2 separate regions of the Homo sapiens genome follow, and region 2 is linked to region 1. Evidence: promoter capture Hi-C in human tissues and cell types (Jung and others, 2019). All regions are on one chromosome and are shown on one strand. Each heading gives the region's core, a stretch centred on a gene start or on the middle of the fragment in contact. The rest is flanking DNA. Distances are from core to core; before and after follow the strand shown.

What was found. Contacts are between HindIII fragments. The study calls those that stand out against the background at their distance.
Region 2: a fragment that was not itself captured here is called in contact with the fragment with the promoter of DSC1 in region 1 in 1 of the 25 tissues and cell types used here (neural progenitor cells).

What each region holds. Positions count from the first base shown.
Region 1 is chr18:31,160,510-31,164,358 of GRCh38, reverse strand. It overlaps DSC1 (desmocollin 1), which reads left to right and starts at 1,503. Exons shown (of 16, transcript NM_024421.2): 1 at 1,503-1,827. The coding sequence starts at 1,765. It overlaps DSCAS (DSC1/DSC2 antisense RNA), which reads right to left. Exons shown (of 4, transcript NR_110785.1): 4 at 1,570-1,824. The HindIII fragment of the contact is 13,832 bases long and covers 1-3,849 here.
Region 2 is chr18:31,207,698-31,211,291 of GRCh38, reverse strand. No RefSeq gene overlaps it. Among named protein-coding and RNA genes, the nearest start is that of DSC1, 47 kb to the right of the region's middle. The HindIII fragment of the contact is 3,155 bases long and covers 606-3,594 here.

The sequences.
Region 1 (3,849 bases), core at 254-2,753:
CAATATATGCCATTTTTTCAGTAACACCAATTTAATTTTGCTCTTCTATATCTTCCTAGTTCAGTGGAGAATATCATGTTATAGAAAAAGGTAATGATAACTTCATTAGCTGAAAAAAATGTGTTTCTATTTTCTAGGGTTGGAGAATTTGTCTTTGAATTATTTAAGCTGTATGACTATCTATTTATCTGTCTATCTATCTATCTAAATATATACTTAGATGATGCTTAAACATGCACAGAATTACACTTGGCTGTACACATATACATCTAAGTAATTTTTCTATTTCTATATTCCCATTCTTTTCTCCCAAAACGCCAGATATAAAAATATTCCATTAAAATGACTGTATTTTCTGATTGAGAAATCAAATTCCAATGCAGTCACAAAATATGTTTATTAGTGGGTATACCACTAGCAATAAAATACTACAAGATATCTTTTAGTTTTTTTTCTCCTGGGTCATTCATTTTCCAAATCTTCCTAGCTTCTAATTCTAATGAAGCAGTTACATTTATTTCTGTCTCTACATACAAGGAGAAATTGTTCCCATTGTCAAATAAGCTGAAGAAAACCTTTCTTTCCTCCCTTCTCAGCAGCATGGGTGTTGGGCTCTACCTTAACATTTGAAAATATTTATCCTTCTGTCCTAACTTCCATCACTGCCATTGAGTGCAATTGGTATCACTGAGCTCACTAATTTGGGACAGGAATAATGATGCTAAAGCTCTTGTTAGAGGAATCATTAGGGTTTAAAAAAATCTACACTTGATGGCCTGATTGTACTATTAAGCTAGGATATCCTATGTGTAATGTACAAGTAATTAGGGTGAATAGAGTGATTTTAGAGAGACTTGCTCTCAAAGATTGTAGTTGTCCTTGAAAAAATATAAAGGTAAAAAGCAGTGGCATCTTGTACAACAAAAGGAAAGCCACAAGAAAGATTATATGCTAGCTATTTCTTTATTCTCTTTCTTTTATGAAGTCTTTACATTCTGATAAGTTTCCTGTGACATCTAGAGAACCAACCACAGTGAATAGTCAATAACAGGAAGTAGATACCATGCCTTTATGAAGTTGCTGCTTTAAACTGGAATGCCAGTTCTCTAGCAGAACTACAGTGTTCTACAGGACCGATGACACTTAAATGCTTAGATGGGAGATAACTTCTGATGAGTGTGATTACACACGCTTAGGTCCTCTGATTTGCCAATGGCAGTTGAGGAGGCATCACTTCCTTGCATGGCGTTTGTGCACAATTTATGTTTGTACCCGAGGGCAAGACAGGTTAATAAGGCCAAGAAGGAGGGGAGGCTGTGGGAGTGGGTAATAACTGGGGAGGACTTCACAGCATCAACCTGGGGGAAAGGGAGGAGGGCTGAGGATGAAGGGTGTTCCCTCCTCCTTCTGCCTATGTGTTAAGTGGCAAGAGAAATTTTGAAAGCTGCTGTGAGGAGGAGCTACTGACTGGGTTTTGGGGTGTTTTGTACCCCACCCTCCTCACTTGTAGGAAAGCCTCTTTGCATTTAGACGTAATTGAACTGGAAGGAAGGAGACTGGCCAGGGAATAGGGGGAAAGAAATTCTCCCGTTGCTCCTCCTACTGTTTATCACTTGCCTCCGGACTGTCTTCCAAACCAAGCTCAGCTGCATCAAGGTGGCAGCAGAATACCCTGTGCAAGTGCCAGCGTCTTCTTAGCCGCTCTGTGCATCCCAGGCTGCCCTGTTATCTGGCCACCGTCCCTGGCCATTGGGACTGCTTCTGATGGCTCTGGCCTCTGCTGCCCCAGGGAGCATCTTCTGTAAGCAGCTCCTTTTCTCTCTCCTGGTGAGTAACAACCAAAGGATTAGGGAATTCAAGCATGTTACTACCTGCTTCCTCTCTGCAGTTTGGGCTTGAAAGAGACTAGGAGTGAGGATGGGAGGCAGAGAAGAGAGATTGGGGAAAACAAAAGCAGATCTGAGGAAGATTCAGGGAAGAGTTGAGAGGCTTGGGATTCAGGATGGAAAGTGTTCAGCTTACTTCTCAAGCACCCACTGCCAGAGTGTTAAAAGTTTTCAAGGGAATCCCTCTTCCATCCTGCTGTGGTGATTTTCTAAGAGTAGAGAAGTGAATTCATTCTTTAGGCATTTGGCCCAGAAGTTTCTGAGGTTTACTTCTGCTACCAGTGATTACATAAACTCATGTTATTTAACATGCTGAGTTCTACTAAGCTGCAAAAAAAGAGAAAGGATTCTGGGTGAACATGCAAATTATCCAGGACTTTTTGAATTTTACCCACGAAGCAGTTTAAGCAAAGAATAGTTTAAGAAAAATAACAAAAATGTGACTGTCATTGAAAATATCCTCAACTTGGCTTCCACTTGGGTTTTTAATAGCTTTGTAACTGTGTAAGGTGCTATTTTTTCTTTGGAGGTGAGGGAAGAGAGGGGGGTTATTTCACACATCCGTCCATCATTTCTGAGGTGTGAGTTTCCTATTTTTTCATTTTAGCAAAATACTTGAGTTTCAAAATATATTTTTAGAAATGGCAGGTATGAGGACAAACATTTTCTCCATGTAAATAATATACAATGCAGGGTTGATGGTCACCTTCTCATCCTGTAACTGCTTAGGGAGACGATAACTCAGATACCATCTTAAGTTAGTACAAGTTTGGTAAAATGTGGTAAAAATGTTTCAAAGGATTCTACCCACATTTCTTTTGCTTCTGATCCCTGTACTGTCTAATATCTCTTGGACAATTCATCTCCTGTTTATTTATTTCTGACTCTGAAACTGACTAAAAGGGTGTCACTAAGCCACTTAGTCAGTGATTTAACCTGAAGACGGGAATAGTATTTAATGAATGGAAACCTTCAGTGGCTCTGCCTGCAGAGGGAGGACCATCAACATGGAATCCTAGGACAAGAAGGAAAGAAGATGGGGGTGGGAGTGGAAGTGTGGATATAACTATAAGAATGTCTCATATATTTATATATATATATGTACATTTATATATATATACACACACGCACATATACAGTCATGCTCTGCAAAACAATGCCTCAGTCAATGATGGACTACATATATGAGTGGTCCCATAGATTATAATGGAGCTCGTCTGTATAGGTGAACCATTTTTTATCTTTTATATTGTATTTTAATGTACTTTTTCTATATCTAAAAATGTTTAGTTACACAAATACTTACAATTGCCTACAGTATTCAGTAGAGGAACATGCTGTACAGGTTTGTAGCTTACAATAAGCTATACTATATACTATACACCTAGGCTGTACCATGGTGCATACCATGGGGCATACATATATAAATCATGGTGTATACCATGTAGGTATAACCCAGGTGTGTAGTAGACTATATCCTCTAAGTGTATGTAAGTATACTCTATGATGTCTGCACAAGGATGAAATCACCTAACGTTGCATTTCTTAGAATGTAAGCAATATATGACTGTGTGTATATATATACACACATACACATACATATATAGGTATAGGTATATGTACAGGTATATGCATATGTATGTGTACATATGTATATGTATGTGTTTATGCATAGCCTAATTACAATATGCTGTTTCCACATTGTATACTTAGACAACTATTAACAGTATGGTCTATGCTTAGAAAGTTCTTTAAGTATAATTTATTATGTTCCTTGGCATTAGGGATGAACATATTTAAAAAGTTAAATAAATACGAATGTCTCACGTTTTAAAAAGTGGTTTTTAAATTAGGACTAAATAAAAATGTGGCCTTTTAATTCCAGATTTCTGCCTAACATAGATTTTTGTAAAATTACAAACTATTTAATTAGACTGCTACAGTATATCTGGTAGACTTGAGA
Region 2 (3,594 bases), core at 934-3,433, 46 kb before region 1:
CTTAAATGCAGGCAGAGGGACAACAAGCACTGCTGCACTTATCACACTGGGAAAAACCATTCTACCTGTCTGTGGGGAACAGAAGAAAAGTCTCTAGCCTTCGAGGAAGGGCAGGAACATGTGTGGAGCTCATAACCATAGCTGGTGGGTGGGTCAGGAGCACTAAGAAGGCCACTCCTAAAGATCCAGGGATATAGAACCTACACAAGACCAAGGCTTCACCAGAATAACAGAGGCTGCCTCCCTCTCACCAGGCTTACAAGCACTGAGTAACTTCTAACAGTGCAATAATGTTGGGAGAGTTGCAAGAGTTCAGAGACAAAGAAAGAGAGACCCTCTCTGAGGCACAACAGGAAGGGAAGACCTCAAGCTAAAGATTAAGCACATAGTGAGAGAAACTGCAAATCTGTCTCCACCCTAAACACAAGTTATCTCTGGAAGAATCTGAATGCTATGGTATACACTGATTGCCAGCACAGCAACAAGAACCGAACCCAACTCAACACTTTCCTAGATTGGTTCACCTCCCCAAAATAAAGATCTAATGTAAGGACAGGTATGCCCATGTGCAAATGCAGAAACTGTTTGCCTCAGTTTCTATTCCTACATAGGTATACAACTTTCAACAAAAAATTATAAGGCATACAAAGAAGCAAGAAAAAGCAACAAACTACCAAGAGAAAAGCAATCAATAGAGCCAAATTCAGATATGACAGAGAAGACAGAACTATCAGAAAGATAATTTAAAACAACTATAACTAATATGTTGATGTTTCTAAAGAAAAAACTGACAACATACAAAAAACAGACAGCTAAGGCAATTTCAGCAGAGAGAGGAACGCTATAACATGGAATAGCATGAAAATGTTAGAAATAAAAAGCACAGTAACAGAGATGAAGAAGAACATTCAAAGGCTCATTAGAAGACTTCACAAACTGAAGAAAGGGTTAGTCAACTTGAACATAGGTCAATAGACATTACCCCAACTGCAGCACAAAGATATCCGAACTATGTGTCTTATTTATTGTTAATGAGAAGGCAAAATGCTACAATCATTTTGGGAAACAGTTTGGTTCTTTTTTATAGGATTAAGTATATACTTACTATATGATCCAGATGCCACTCTGAGTAATTACTCAAGAGAAATAAAAATGTATGCTCACAAAAAAACCTGTAGGTAAATATCTCTAACAGCTTTGTGCATAATTGTTAAAAACTGGAAAAAAAAACTTGAATAGTAAATAAATAAACTATGGTACATCTAGACAATGAAATACTATTCAGCCATAAAAAGGAACAGACTTGATATGTATAAGCGACATTGTTAAATCTCAAAAGGATTTGCTAAGTGAAAGAAGCTAAATCCCCAAATTACATATTATAGAATTTCATTTATATGACATTCTAAAAAAGCAAAACTATAGAGCTGTAGAACTCATGGGTGGGTGACAGGGGTTAGGAATGGAAGGAGAAGATTACTAGAAAGGAGGAGCATAAGCAAATTTTGAGGGATGATGGAACTGTTCTCAATGACAATTTTGATGATGGATATATGACTTGATGTGTTTGTCACAATGCTTAGAACTCAACACCACAAAAAGTAAATTTTACCGTGCATATGTTTAAAAATACATTTAAGTAAAGATGTGTTGTTGTACACAGAGTTTGGAAATGGAGAGTTTTTAGAGCTGGGCACATTTAGCAAACCTATTTTAAATTCAATTCAGTTCAAATTTGTTTTTACTCCTTCAAATGTCTGAATGATTCCAGGGTGAAATCGCACACTGTACTTTCTCAGATGGTCCTCTCTTACAGAGAACACTAAATTAGAACTTGAATGAGCTCCTCTGCTGTTCTGTGTCCCAGCCTGATTCAAAATAACATGCACTATAATATTTACTAATTGAAGAGTTAATTGTTTGTTTCTTAACTACTTAACATTTTGGTTAACTTAATCCTTTTCTTCTTCCTCCCAAATACCCTTTGTCACTCTCTCCCCATGATCTTATCAGGCATCAGATTGTTCATCCACTAAAGAATGCTGGTGAGTGTGCTAAAGAACGGCGAGGTGTGCTGGAGGCATGCGGTCCTTACCTAAGTAGATTCGAAGTGACTACCCCCTTCCACTAAATAATTTCATAATTACATGCCTTAGCTATTCAATTTACATTGCTGTGGTATCCAAAAGAATAATGATGGCAATTTACAATTACAATCAGCTTTATTTGCATTTCTAAAGCTTTGATATACTTCCTCAATTATTTAAATAATGTACATACACAAAAAGAATGAATAAACTATGGGAATTGTAAGCACTGTTGAAGCTACTTTTTTTTTTTTAACAAGTATTCATTTTAGGATTCATTACTTATAAATAGAATTACCCTGCTGTCATTGATTAATAACCTTAAAATACTCTTAGTCACTAACTTAAGTTCACCAATGTAGAGATATTAACGTATAATTTCAATTTAAGGTGTGTAGAAGGTAAACAGCAAGAACTGGAGGTGAGGTCATCCCTTTTATTCCCCCAATGTATAATATATTAATATTAACAGTAAACTTGAGAGGGTCTCTCTAGCTACTATTTAAAGTCAAAGGAAATCATAGAAGTAAACTACAAAAAGGGATTCTAAATATACCAATGAATTTCTTACTGTTTGAAGCATAATACAGTTTTCTTTTTAATACAGAATCTGGGATTTAATCTTTAGAATCAACATGCATTTTTAAAAAATGAGACAATTTTTAGATGATTAAGGTAAAATTTATATTTGCTAAATTCGTCTTCATAGTGTATCAGGTCATCTCAGCACCAAAGCTTGTATTCTCAAGACTAAGGACTCACTCTTTGTATGAAGCCCCACCTTAGTTTCCTGCCCAGTGTCTCCTCTTCTGATGTCAGAGTTCTTCTAAATCTTTTAGGCCTGAGCCTAAATCTGTTTCTGTGACTGATCTCTGTTTCCCAGTCTCTCCTGCAATATTCTATGGCCATTAAAAGTAAAGTAAATATGGCAACAGAAAAACTGATCTCATTTTACAAAGAATTTTTTAAAAAATTTTAATGCTAGAATGAGAAGTTTCCCTGAGTTAATTGGCAGTGGAAACGTATTACTTTTTTTTTTTTTAAGTAGGAGAAAATATGAAGCCCTGTGAAGACTGGATTTAGAGGGAGAAACAAGACAGTATGACTGGTCAGATGGTTGCTGGATGGTTTAGGAGGAAGGTAATGAAGACCTTAACCAGGGTGGTTGCAGTGGGAAGGGAAGAAAATAGACAGAAAAAGTGTTATATAAACAGAATCTATAGAATTCTAGCAAAGAATTCTTTAAGGAGAGTGATGAATAAGGAGAAACCATGAATGGAAGTGTCAGTAACAATGGAGGGAAGAGTGGATGTGGTTGGAGCTGTCAGGAAGCATGGACAGGCTTTGTGTTTAGAGAGACTGAGTTTGAAATCTGTCTCTGGTACTTAATTCCATGTAACAAAAAAGCGTCTGAATTTCTTTTTGCCTTAATCTGTACATCTGTTTACTCTAAAAATGCCTACCTTCAAAGGGTTCTTATGGGATTGAGTAAGCTACTGCATGAAAA